Regions from separate parts of the Homo sapiens genome. Here region 2 is linked to region 1. Evidence: promoter capture Hi-C in 16 types of primary human blood cells and fetal thymus (Javierre and others, 2016). All regions are on one chromosome and are shown on one strand. The core of a region is centred on a gene start or on the middle of the fragment in contact, and the rest is flanking DNA. Distances in the headings are between cores, read along the strand shown. Region 1 holds the start of POLR3A (RNA polymerase III subunit A). Region 2 overlaps ZMIZ1 (zinc finger MIZ-type containing 1).

What was found. Contacts are between HindIII fragments. The CHiCAGO score rates a contact against its expected background, and 5 or more counts as called.
Region 2: a contact is called between a fragment that was not itself captured here and the fragment with the promoter of POLR3A in region 1, in 5 of 17 cell types (naive B cells, activated CD4 T cells, endothelial precursors and 2 more). The highest score is 7.6, in naive B cells.

What each region holds. Positions count from the first base shown.
Region 1 is chr10:78,026,684-78,033,026 of GRCh38, forward strand. POLR3A (RNA polymerase III subunit A) reads right to left here and starts at 2,832. Exons shown (of 31, transcript NM_007055.4): 1 at 2,681-2,832. The coding sequence starts at 2,724. RefSeq lists an enhancer at 2,752-3,001. The HindIII fragment of the contact is 13,008 bases long and covers 545-6,343 here.
Region 2 is chr10:79,104,698-79,111,040 of GRCh38, forward strand. The region is part of intron 1 of ZMIZ1 (zinc finger MIZ-type containing 1); the gene reads left to right. Among named protein-coding and RNA genes, the nearest start is that of ZMIZ1, 39 kb to the left of the region's middle. RefSeq lists a silencer at 2,657-2,834. The HindIII fragment of the contact is 2,257 bases long and covers 1,494-3,750 here.

The DNA.
Region 1 (6,343 bases), core at 1,582-4,081:
GCATTACAACCTTCATCCTCTTATCTTCTCATCCTACACATTCTCCTGAGTGATCATGCCACTCACATACATGTTGATGTCTATCAAATCTATCTCTATAGGCCAGCTACTGCTACCCAACTGGACATCTGTATAGACACCTCCTCCTGGACAGTTCCACCTAGATATCTCATAGGCACTTCAAACCCCACACATTGAAAACAGACCTCAATACTTTTTCTCCCATGTCTGTCCCTTCATTCATTCTTCCAACAAATTGACTATTTCCTATGTGCCAGGCACCATCCTACAGGCTGAGGATACAGATTAGCTAAGACAGACAAGGTCCTTGCCAACAAAGAGCTCACAGGTCAGGGTGGGAAAGACAGACCACAAACAAACGAATATACAAATGTGAACAGATGCAGAAGTGATGTAAGCAGTGGAGTCTGAGGAATTACTTTACGTTGCATGGTCAGAAAGCCTCACTGTAAAACTGACAATCAGAAGGAAGAGCATCTGAAGTGGAGAGAATGACTAGGGCCAGGGTCCTGGGACTGGCACAAGCTTGGCATTTTCAAGGAACCAAATGAAATCAGTATATACTGGAGCATAGAAAGCTAATAGTACAAGATAAAGTCAGTGAAGCATGCAGGAGCTAAAGCATGAGGGCTTGGGAACTTTGGTAGGGAATTTATTTAAATAACATAAATGCAGCCGGGTGCGGTGGCTCATGCCTGTAATCCCAGCACTTTGGGAGGCCAAGGTGGGTGGATCACGAGGCAAGGAGATTGAGACCATCCTGGCTAACATGGTGAAACCCTGTCTCTACTAAAAATACAAAAAATTTGCTAGGCGTGATGGCCCACACAATGGAAAGCTGCTAGAGGATTTTTTTTTTTCCCTGAGACAGAGTCTTGCTCTGTCACCCAGGCTGGAGTGCAGTGGTGCGATCTCAGCTCACTGCAACCTCTGCCTCCTGGGTTCAAGCGATTCTCCTGCCTCAGACTCCCAAGTAGCTGGGGTTACAGGCATACAGGCATGCGCCACCGCACCCAGCTAATTTTTGTATTTTTAGTAGAGATGAGGTTTTACCATATTGGCCAGTCTGGTCTTGAACTTCTGACCTCATGATCTGCCTGCCATGGCCTCCCAAAGTGCTGGGATTACAGACGTGAGCCACCACTCCTGGCCTCTGCTAGAGGATTTTAATTGACAATACCCTTAATTTGCACTTTGACAGAAGCACTTTCTCTGTTTTGTGAGAATGTATTATATCTGACTGGGCGCAGGTGTACAGGTGGGTGTGAAGGGCCAGTGTCGATGTAGAGCTACCACATGGGAGAATGCTGCATTCACCTAGGTAAGACACCTGTTCTAGTGAATGGCAACCATCCACACAGCTGCCCAAGCAAGGCATTCTGTATATCCGTCTCAAGGTCTCTCGACCTCTAATTCTTTCCACCATGAATCAAGAGATTTTCCAGAAGGAGAACTCTTATCAAGATACTCTCCTGTTGAAAATCCTTCAAAGGTTCCTCACTGCCTACAAGATGACTTCTTAACACAGCTTCAAGTCTTCTGCTTCCTTCTGATCACCTGTGTTCTCTCCCTCAGGTCTGCTCCTTGAAAAAAGCAGTTTGGTCTGCTTTCTTTTGCCTGGACCCATTATGTGCTCTCAAAACCCCCTGGACCTACCCTTGTCATTGCACTTGTCGTACCCAGTGTTGACTTGTGTACCTTCTCCAACTAGATTAGGCAGTAAAAGTTTTATTCAGACCGTATCTTTAACGTCCAACACTGGGAATAACGCGCAGTATCCTCCTCAGTGTCTGCTGTAAGAATGATGAATTCACTTTTTTTTTTGAGACACCGTCTCACTCTGTCACTCAGGGTGGAATGCAGGAGGTTGCCCACTGCAACCTCTGCCTCCCAGGCTCAAGTGATTTTTCGGCCTCAGCCTCCCGAGTAGCTGGGACCACAAGGGCGCGCCACCACGCCTGCTAATTTTTGTATTTTTGATAGAGACGGGGTTTCGCCACGTTGCCCAGGCTAGTCTCAAACTCCTGAGCTCAGGAGATTCACCCGCTTCGGCCTCCTAAAGTGCTGGGATTACAGGAGTAAGCCACCGCGCCCGGCTGGATTCACTTTCTTACCGAGAACTCTAAGAAGGAGCCACCGCCTAATAACGTATTTCTGAAGGCAAAAGTCCGGATAGCAGCTTTATTTCTGACACTGCCATCCGTCGGCCTGTGGTACAGCTTTCTAGTGGGCAACCCCATCCTTTTGGTAAGCAACTACTGCCTCCGTGTCAGACGCTCTGCGGCTGACAGAATTAGAGACAGTCCCCGCCCCAGATTGCTCCCCTCGCTGCAGCAGGGGATAGTTCGCTGAAGAACAGGGATCATTGTATGACTTCAGGAGAATGCGAGCTTTGGCCCAGGGTGCACAAATCATTAAGGCTCAGGCCACTCCGACTTCTCCGCCCAAGTCCAGGGACCTCTCGAGGTGCTGAAATCCCCTCAGCCTGACCAATGCTCTTTGACCAACGCTGGTAGTTCTGGGCGCTGGTCACACCTATGGACTACTGGCCCTCCCCTTCCCATTGCACCCCATCTCTGACCCTGCAAGACCCGGGACCGCTGACCTCGGACCCCTTGCCCTATTTCTCAGCCCTTTGGCCACTCTTACTCCGTCTTACATTTTCTTGGCCACATCCGTCTCCCGGAACTGCTCCTTCACCATGATGACCGCTGCCGGGACGCCTCCTTGGCACTCGGGAGGCCAGATTAGAGAAACGATGCCCCCAGCACCTCCTGGGGCTGCTTCTGGACTCGCCGCTAACACATCTGCGGCATCCTCTCGGCCACCGTAGAGTGTCCCACGTGTCCGCTTCCTCTTCCGCTACTCGCCCGCGCGTCTGTCTGTCAAGAGAGACTTCCGGCATGCCTTTTTTTTTTTTTTTTTTCCCTTTCCCCGCACCGTCACCTGGTGGCGCTTACTGGAAGCCGCACCGAGGCGTGTGCTGTATTTTAAAAATCCCATTTCTGGTCAATTTCTCCACGTAATCAGACACCCGCAGAGAAACTGCATATAACTCTTTGCCTCAAGGCTTTTAGACAAGCAGAGGGCCAAAACTTGCATAAAATGGAAAATCATCATCATTAACATCAGTACCATCTAAATTAAGAGCTTCTAATTGTTTTAAGGGAAGGTGGAAGCTAAAATGAACCGGCCCATCCAACAGAGGGCACTATCTGTGGAGGACCAACAAAGGAAAACAGAGCGGAAAATATGGGCGCACATGTGCCTCCAGTTCATGAAGTTATTTGGAGGGAGGGGGGAAGAATTAAACTTACATTATTGATTACAAAAACAGTTGAAAATCTGTTAGAGTGAAAACAGCCATGGTAATCTACAGAAGAAAAGGGAGAATGGAAAGTAAAGATCATTCATGTCTTGAAATAAGTTGTCTACAGTCTGTGAGAACTTGTGGGAGGTGATCCTAGTGTGATATATTAGTGCATGAGCCTAGCAAGGAAATCACATCACCACAGGGCTTAGCGCTTAGAATTAGAACTAAGTCCTCATTATTTGTGAGAAACTCAAAACAGAACTTAACAAAAGTGTTTAACAACTTTCAATTTTTAAGAAGGGACGCTATCTCATTTTCAGACGCCATGGATCCTCACTAGCAAAACACAATGTCACAGACAAACGAGGCATATCAGGTTTTTCTAACTCATTTCGGTACTCCATCACTTAATCATGAAATAATGTTGACTATATATATATATATATATATATATATATAGTCAACATTATGGGTTTTTTTTGTTTTTTTTTTTTTTTTTTTTTTGAGACGGAGTCTCGCTCTGTCGCCTAGACTGGAGTGCAGTGGCGAAATCTCGGCTCACCGCAACCTCCGCCTCCCGGGTTCAAGCGATTCTCCTGGCTCAGCCTCCCGAGTAGCTGGGACTACAAGCGCCCGCCACCACGCCCAGCTAATTTTTGTATTTTTAGTAGAGACGGGGTTTTACTATGTTGGCCAGGCTGGTCTCGAATCCCTGACCTCGTGATCCGCCCGCCTCAGTCTCCCAAAGTGATAGGATTACAGGTGTGAGCCACCACACCCGGCTCTGATGTTTACAATATTATACCAACAAGGGTTGGATCGTGTGTGACTTATCTAGAGGTTAAGAGCAAAAGTTATGAAATCACAGTGCCATCATGGGAGTCTAGCTTTCACCATTTAAAGTTGTGTAGGCAGCCAGGCGTGGTGGCTCACGCCTGTAATCCTAGCACTTTGGGAGGCCAAGGTGGGCGGATCACCTGAGGTCAGGAGTTCGGGACCAGCCTGGTCAACATGGTGAAACCCCATCTCTACTAAAAATACAAAAATTAGCTGGGGTTGGTGGTGTGCGCCTGTAATCCCAGGTACTCGGGAGGCTGAGGCAGGAGAATCGCTTGAAGCTGGGAGGTGGAGGTTGCAGTGAGCCGAGACCATGCCATTGCACTGCAGCCTGGGCGACAAGAGTGAAACTCCATCTCAAAAATAAAAAAAAATAAAAAATAAAGTTGTGCAGGCCGGGCGCGGTGGCTCACGCCTGTAATCTCAGCACTTTGGGAGGCCGAGGTGGGCAGATCATGAGGTCAGGAATTTGAGACCAGCCTGACCAATATGGTGAAACTCCGTCTCTACTAAAAAATACAAAAATTAGCCTGGTGTGGTGGCGCATTCCTGTAATTCCAGCAACTCAGGAGGCTAAGGCAGGAGAATCGCTTAAATCCGGGAGGCGGAGGTTGCAGTGAGCCAAGATTGTGCCACTGCACTCCAGCCTGGGCAACAGAGCAAGACTCTGCCTCAAAAAAAAAAAAAAAAAAAATATATATATATATATATATAGATATAGATATAGATATATGTGTATATATACACATACGTGTATATATACACGTATATAAAGTGTGAACTTGGGAAAGTTATTTAATCTTATTGTGTGTTAGTTTCCCCATTTATAACATGGGTGAGTAATATGTATCCTATTTCTTAGAGTCAATGGGAAGGTTAAATAGCAAAATGAAGGTAAAAGTAATTAGAATGTAACAGGCACATTACAATCACTCAATAAATATTCTTCTGCCTCAGCCTCCCGAGTAGCTGGGACTACAGGTGCGCACCACCATGCCTGGCTAATTTTTGTATTTTTAGTAGAGACGGGGTTTCACCATATTGGCTAGGCTGGTCTTGAACTCCTGACCTCGTGATCTGCCTGCCTCGGCCTTCCAGAGTGCTGGGATTACAGGCATGAGCCACCGTGCCCAGCCGGCTGACTATTTTCTTAAGAATAAGGATAGTTGGTCACCTCGGGAGGCTGAGGCAGAAGAATCGCTTGAACTTGGGAGGCGGATGTTGCAGTGACCCGAGATCCCGCCACTGCACTCCAGCCTGGGTGACAGAGCGAGATGCGGTCTCAAAAAAAAAAAAAAAAACAAAAAACGAAAAAAAAGAAAAATAGTCGGCCGGGGACGGTGGCTCACGCCTATAATCCCAGCACTTTGAGAGGCCGAGGCGGGGGCGGATCACTTGCGGTCAGGAGTTGGAGACCAGCCTGGCCAACATGGTGAAACCCCGTCTCTCCTAAAAATACAAAAATTAGCTGGGCATTGTGGCGCAGGCCTGTAATTTTAGTTACTCTGGAAGCTGAGCCAGGAGAATCGCTTGAATCCGGGAGGTCGAGGTTGCAGTGAGCCGCGATGAAGCCATTGCTCTCCAACCTGGGTGACAAGAGCTAGACTCTGTCTCAGGAAAAAAAAAAAAAGAAAATAGGAAAGCTGCCCGCAAAGCCTGCACCTTGGACACCTCGTCTGCACTAACATTTGGGAAATTCTTCTTATTATTTCTCCGGAACATATATATTTACATTCTTTACATGTCTGTTTCACGTTAAAGAAAATATTTCTGGAGCAATCAATTTTTTTTTCCTTTTTTTTTTTTTTTTTCTGAGACGGAGTTTCGCTCTTATTGCCCAGGCGGAGTGCAATGGTGCGATCTCGGCCCACTGCAACCTCCGCCTCCCGGGTTCAAGCGATTCTCCTGTCTCAGCCTCCCAGATAGCTGGGATTAGAGGCATGCACCACCACGCCCGGCCAATTTTTTTTTTTTTGTAGTAGAGACGGGGTTTCGCCATTTTGCCCAGGCTGGTATCGAACTTCTGACCTCAGGTCATCTACCTGCTTCGGCCTCCCAAAGTGTTGGGATTATAGGCGTGAGCCACTGCCCCTGGCTTCCAATTTTTTTTTCCTTTTTTTTCTTTTCTTTTTTTTTTTTTTCTGAGACGGATTTTCGCTCCTGTTGCCCAGG
Region 2 (6,343 bases), core at 1,372-3,871, 1.1 Mb after region 1:
GGAGTCCTGCCAAACCCAACTCTGGAGGCCGTGAACCTCACCGTAGCCTTGGGGACTGGCCCGCTGGCCACGGCACTCTGAGCATCAGCCTTAGGTACTGCTAGTAGGAGGTGCACTGGGGTTTTAACCAGAGGCAGTAATGAGCTTTCTGAAATCATGCCAGCTTCATGTTTTGTTTCTCAAAGAAACGATGGGCCTTGATTTCCTATCAGCATTGATGTGGTTGCTGTTGTTGTTGGGTTGTTGTTGTGGGGTGTGTGTGTGTGTGTGTGTGTGTGTGTGTGTGTGTGTGTGTGTCTTAACTGCCATGGGTTTTAAAGCCATGGTGGAAAGTGAGGAAAATAGCAGATGCTAGATCCAATTGCCACCAAACTGTCTTGAAATGCTATAAATATTTTCTAAAAAGACTAGCTTCCCGAGCCCAATGTGTTAGTTGTCTCCTCCCTGAGAAACTGATTCCCGAAAATTTAGACAAATAACCTCTTAAATCACAGCTGTTAACCTCGGGTGTAAAAACTGCTACCACACCAGCCGCAGGTCACAGCGACTCTGCTCTGCCTAAGTGCCTCCGTGTGGCATAGAGAAGGTGGTGGCAGAGAAGAGAGATCTTGTGCTTAGGCAAGAGACCAGGGTCGGAAGCCGGGCTTGGCCACTGACTGCTGTGTGACCTGGGGCCATTGGCCCACCTCTCTGAGCCTCTTCTGTGTAACAGACCTGTTACAGGCTGCCTCGATCCTGAGAGTGCCACTGAACTGAGCTTCTTTCTGCTCCTCAAAGGTAAACAAAAGTGACCGTTGGCATTCAGGAGTTCATGTTAATCAGGACTGAGAAAACCCCTCCGCCCCTAGTCCCCTTTAGCCCTCTGACTGTGTCAAGGACAGCTGCCAGTGACTGGATACTTGCTGGTGTCTCTTTTCAACAGAGAGCACCTGCAGGACCCGGAGCCTCCAGCAGGCAGGCAGCAAAACAGTGCCATTGTTTGTTCTCCTTGTATTTGTTTTTGTGTTTAACTTCTATCCTTGGTGAGTAAGGCTAATTTTGTATTTAAGGTAGTAATATAAAGTTCTTTTAAAAATAAAAGTATTTATGCAAAAGTTGTGAATTGATTATTAAGCTAATGGCAGTTTCGATGGCAGAAGGAAATGACAAACATCAGGAAGATGGGAGGAAATGTGACGGACTCTGCACACTGTCCAGGTTGCCCTTCCCCTAAGTGCTCACCAACTTCTGTGCCCTTGTAGAAGGAATGAGTGGGGAGGGGTTGCTGGAGGGACGTTCTGGTAAATTGTCTTCCAATTGCACAATACCCAGAGGTGACCACCACACTCCCTAAGACGGTGGGGCTACAGAAAGCCCCATTCTGGCATCCGGGCCAAGGAAACCACTCTCGTGGAGAGTCTTGGCCAAGAAGCTGGGATTCTGTAGCAAAACCAAATCCCCCCACCCCCAGGCCCTCTGTGCCTCTCCATTGAAGTTCCCAAACTGAGGGTCTAAGCTTGACACCATCTGGCTGCTCTCTCCTAGGCCAGAGACCAAGACCAGGCCCTAGCTCTCCCAGATGTGGCTGAACCCAGCAGAATGTAGTAGTTGCTCCACTAACAGGGACATCAAGTGCTGTAGGTTTTGTCTTATGCTCTGCCTGAGAGTGACAGCCTGGAGTGCTATACAGAATAGCAATTCTGAGGCTACAAGGAGCTCTGTAAGAGAGCATGGGGACCAATTGGTAATGCCTGCCATGGGTGTGGGAAGGAAGCCTGGGGGTACACAGGCCTTTATTTGTGACTCATATGCTCCCCCAAGCCTGTGGCTAGATCCTGCCCCCATTGCATCGCCAGCACCCAGCTTGGCGATCAGTGGGTGATTGAGCCCAGAAGCTCCTATAAGAACTTAGCAGATGCTCCTTGGCCGGTCTTTGCCCGTTGTGCAAGGGGACATCCCCCAACCACATTGCAGGCCCTGGAGGGTCAACACTCAGCCCTTGAGTTTAGGAAGCTCTTGTTCATTCCATACCCACTCCCTGCTAGGGCTGGATATGGGGTAGGTACCCAGGAAGTGTGTTGATGAGACCCAAGAATGATCGACAAATGGGACTGGAGAGGTGGTTCGGCCTGGCTTGGCGGCAGTCCATGTAACACTACCTCACTACAGGCATCGTGCAGGTGGCCGAGTGCCCCAGATTTTCTAGGACAGCCCTGGTTTCAGATCCTTCATCTATTGTTCTTGAGTGCCCCTGCCTGAACAGGCATTTGGGCTCCGCTTTGGAAGTCCTGGCTGCTGTGGATATAGCCCTCATGATCATGCTTTTTGATCATTTTCAGAGCACTCACTCTTCCATTGCCTTTGCATCTGGCCAGGGGATGGAGCAGCCCCATTTGCTCACTTTTTTCAGGTGAGGAAATTGAAGGCCAGAGTGAGCAAGTGACTGGCTTGCGGCCACACAGCCAGTTAATGCAGACATCTGGCCTGAACCTGTGATACCCATCTTCTGGCCACTTCACTGTCCACTTACAAAGCCCAGAACTTTCTGCATCCTGCTATTTAAGCCTCATTCATTCAGTCAGCTTTTGTAGCCTAGCGGGTTAGACCTCAGGAGTCAAACAGCATGCTTTGCATTTGAACTACTTCTGGCCGTGTGACTTTTGGTGAGTTCCTTTCTCTCTCTGTGCCTCAGTTTCTTCATTGATAAAAGGGGTGTAGACACCACACGGGGCTCTTGTGAGTATTACTGGGTTAACAGTGTCTGTCTCAGGGTGAGGGTTCTGTGGGGCCCGCCAGTGGTGTTCACAGAGGTGGATTGATCAGAGTTGCTCACAGTCTGGTGAATGTGAGGTGGGAGGCAGATGTGTTCACCACGAAAGAGCGTTCAAGTGGATGGGTGAGGTCAGAGGTGCACTGGGCACCACCGGGCGGTGGGAGGAGGGACCGTCTCCATTGCTCCCACACTACTCGGAGGCATTCAGAAAGGCTCCTCCGTTGATGGACGCTACTTGGAGCAGGGCTTGCAGGGGGCAGGGAGGGCACTGGCCTGATCCTGGCAGATAGCAACCTCCAAAACTTCTCTGGACAGAGGATGGCACTCATGCCTACCGCCTCACTACCTCCAGCAGCTGGAGCTTCTGGGCTCTGCTGTAGGGTGGAGGTGGGGTTGAGAAGAGGTGAAAAGACCCAGTTGCTTTGTCCCAGGGGCAGGCACAGAGTCCTGCCTGAGGGCCCTGGCATGGGGTAATTGTCTATTGTTCATCGTCTGGTAAGCCAGCTCCCCACCTTCTTTCTGCCTGCCTGCCTTTCTGTCCTTCCTCTCAGCATCTGTCTATGCAATATAAAGAGCCCCTCCCAACACAGTCACCAGTGATCTGCTTCCAGGCTAGTGTTGACATCCCAGCCCACCCGGAGACCCATTTATTCTGCCACTGGGGCACAGGGCCCAGTTTTAATCATCCTCGCTCCACTGTGAGATACAGATGGTTGTATTATTAATAGTCATAATTAATCAGCATCCACAGAGGAGCTTTTCCCTAGGCAGCAGATCCTCAGGACGAGCAGCCCTGGGAGGTCCCATTCCAGTCCCCCTTTACAGACAGGGGAAGTGAGGCTGGGAGAAGGGGTGGTGGGACTCATCCGAGGTGGAGCTAGGTATGGACCCCAGCTCAGATCTCAGATCTGATAACCACCTGCAGTGTTACTGTCTGGGAATGGACTGTTCACCCCACCCACCCATACCTAGGTCCTAGGGTGCCAATTGCTGGGAGAAGCTTTCAGCACTGGGGATGGGAGGGTGGTGCTCAGGCTGATGGTGCACTTTGAGATCTCAGGCTGAGAGTGAAGGAAGAAAGGTGGGATGGGGAAGAAAGGCCTGAGGGAGGCCGGACATATTGGGCTAGCAGGACAGGGGGCCTGATTGGGGTAAGGGTGGGGAGGTGGCCTTGGGTAGAAGGAAAGCCAAATACCAACCATCACCCCCTAATACACACAGATCGTGGGTCAGGGCCTGAGGTTGGCTGCTTCTCTGTTCTAAGCTCTGCATCCCAGGGACAGTGATATAAATGCTTACAGCAGGCAGCATCCTGATTTATGGGGCTGTTTTGGACGGGCCTAACTACATCAGCACAGAGGCAGTGAGGGGCTTCTTGCACAATTCTGCAAGCCCACCTTCTCCCCTGCCTGGCTCCTGGGGCTGACCACCACCGAGGCCCCTGTGCATGCATGTGCACATGCATGCACCCAGACCCACGCCTGAGTGGGCACACCCAGGCCCACGTGCTCTGTGTGCACCTGAGGCTGTCCACATCCCTGCCCACAGCCCATAAACTGTGTTAGCCCAGCACGCAGGTGTGTGCTGCTTTGGGCCTGTGCGCAGATGAACACAGGTGTGCCCAGGTGCACACATGTGTGTGTCTGCCTGCACTCTGCAGGCATCCATGTGCCTATGTCCTCTGGGCTGCCTCTCTCTGTGTTGATCTGTTCGTGGCTCTGGGAGGTGGATGTCTGTTCGCTGTCCTGTGTGTGTCCCAGTGTGGATGTGCATTGGTGAGGGGTGTACATGCCTCTGTGCAAGTGCGCCTGTGTGCATGGGTCTGTGTGCACACATGTGTGGGCATGCAACTGCCGCCTCATCCTGTCTTTTTCATTATGGGTGTTGTCCACACTCACATCCTTGCGTGCAACACACACCCGGTGCCCAGCGTGGCTGGGCTGCCCCCGCCTGATCATTAGGCTCATGGATAAGACTCTCTGTCATCGTAAATGAGTATAGAGTGCCCCAGTCCAGGAGTCCTGAAGGAACTGGGGAGGTAGCCTCATCTGTCCTCAGCATCTCCACCCCACCTCCATATGGATGGTGCTGGAGAGGGGAGGCTGGGAGGGAGGGATGTGGTGCCCACTCCCAGGCCCCCACACTGGGTTCCTGATCCACCCTTTGTTTCTCCCCACCATGCCTATGCACTCGCCCATATTCTGTGCCAGACCTTGAGGACAGCCCCGGGTCGTGGGAGAAGCCCAGTCAAGAGTCAGGCAGCCAGGTGCACAAACCCAGGCTCTGTTGCCAGCATGTGGCCCTAGACAGCCCCTCTGCCTCTCCCATCATCACTGTTTTCCCACCTGCAAAATGGTCTTAGCAATGGCCACCTCATGGGGTTATTGTGAGGACAAAAGGGGTGCAGAAACTGCTAGAGAAGTCAAGTTCCTTCCCCCAGCAGACCTCAGTCTCCCCATCTGTAAGATGGCAATAATGACCCTCACCAGTGGTCTCATGGAGTGTTTTGAAGGTCAGATGAGAAAAAGGTTCAGTGAAGGCTGCAGGGTGGTACCCATAGGACTTGTTCCAGCTGTGAGCAAAGGAGATGAGGGGTGCTAGGCACTTGGGGGTGGCATGCATGGCCTGGGCCAGATGCCTGCATCCAAACCCCCATGCTGCCACCCTCTGGCCTTGGGATGTGGGAAGGTTACTTCATCCTCATCTGCATCTCTATTATCCTTAGATTCCTCATCTTTCCAGCAGGCATGTTCGTAGTAGTATCCATCTCCTGGCATGTTGGGAGAATTCAGGAGAAATGAGTGTGGAGCTTAGCACAGAGCTTGACACAAAGCAGCTGCTCAAATCAGCGGTATTTGTTATTCTTGTTTTTGGCCTTATTGCGATACCGGTGGCCACTCGGTCTGGAAGGACAGGTGAATGCATGGCGGATGGTGCATTAATACCACACTAGGATACCTATTAATGAGGTTTAATCTGTGTTTCCAGACTTGATGTCCATCCGTCCCACCGAAGAAGAGTTCAAGCTTTTCTTCCAGGGAACTGAGAGGGCCATGCTGAAACTGGAAGCCTCAGCCTGCAAGAGGTGCCCTGGGGAAGGAGGTAGTTGGTACTGATGTTGGCCGACTACAAAGGAGCTGGCTCCTGGGACTCTGAATGCTGTGCCCTCTGCAGCCACCCAGCCCCACAATGGGAAGCCAGTGGTTACATTTACCCCTGTCTCTTCTGAACCATATGGTGGCTGCACCACAGCTGGCTCAGAGGCTCTGAAAGAAGGCCCACAGGGGAACATGATGTCTTGCCTGAGCCAGGTGAGGACTGAGGCCCCCACTGCCAAGCACTGCAGTCTGGGGCTTCCATTTTCACCATAGTTCCTCTAAGCTGCCTGGAGGAAGGGCTTGAACTCATGAACTTCATGACCAATGGACCTGAAGTCTGGAAGCACAGATGATACCTCATTAACAGGTATCCCAGTGTGATATCAATACATCATCTGTCATGCACTCACCTGTGCTTCCAGATGGGGTGGCCACTGGCACCGAGGGACTCCTTGCACAGTTATGCAGATGGCTGCCAATCTACTTGCTCCCC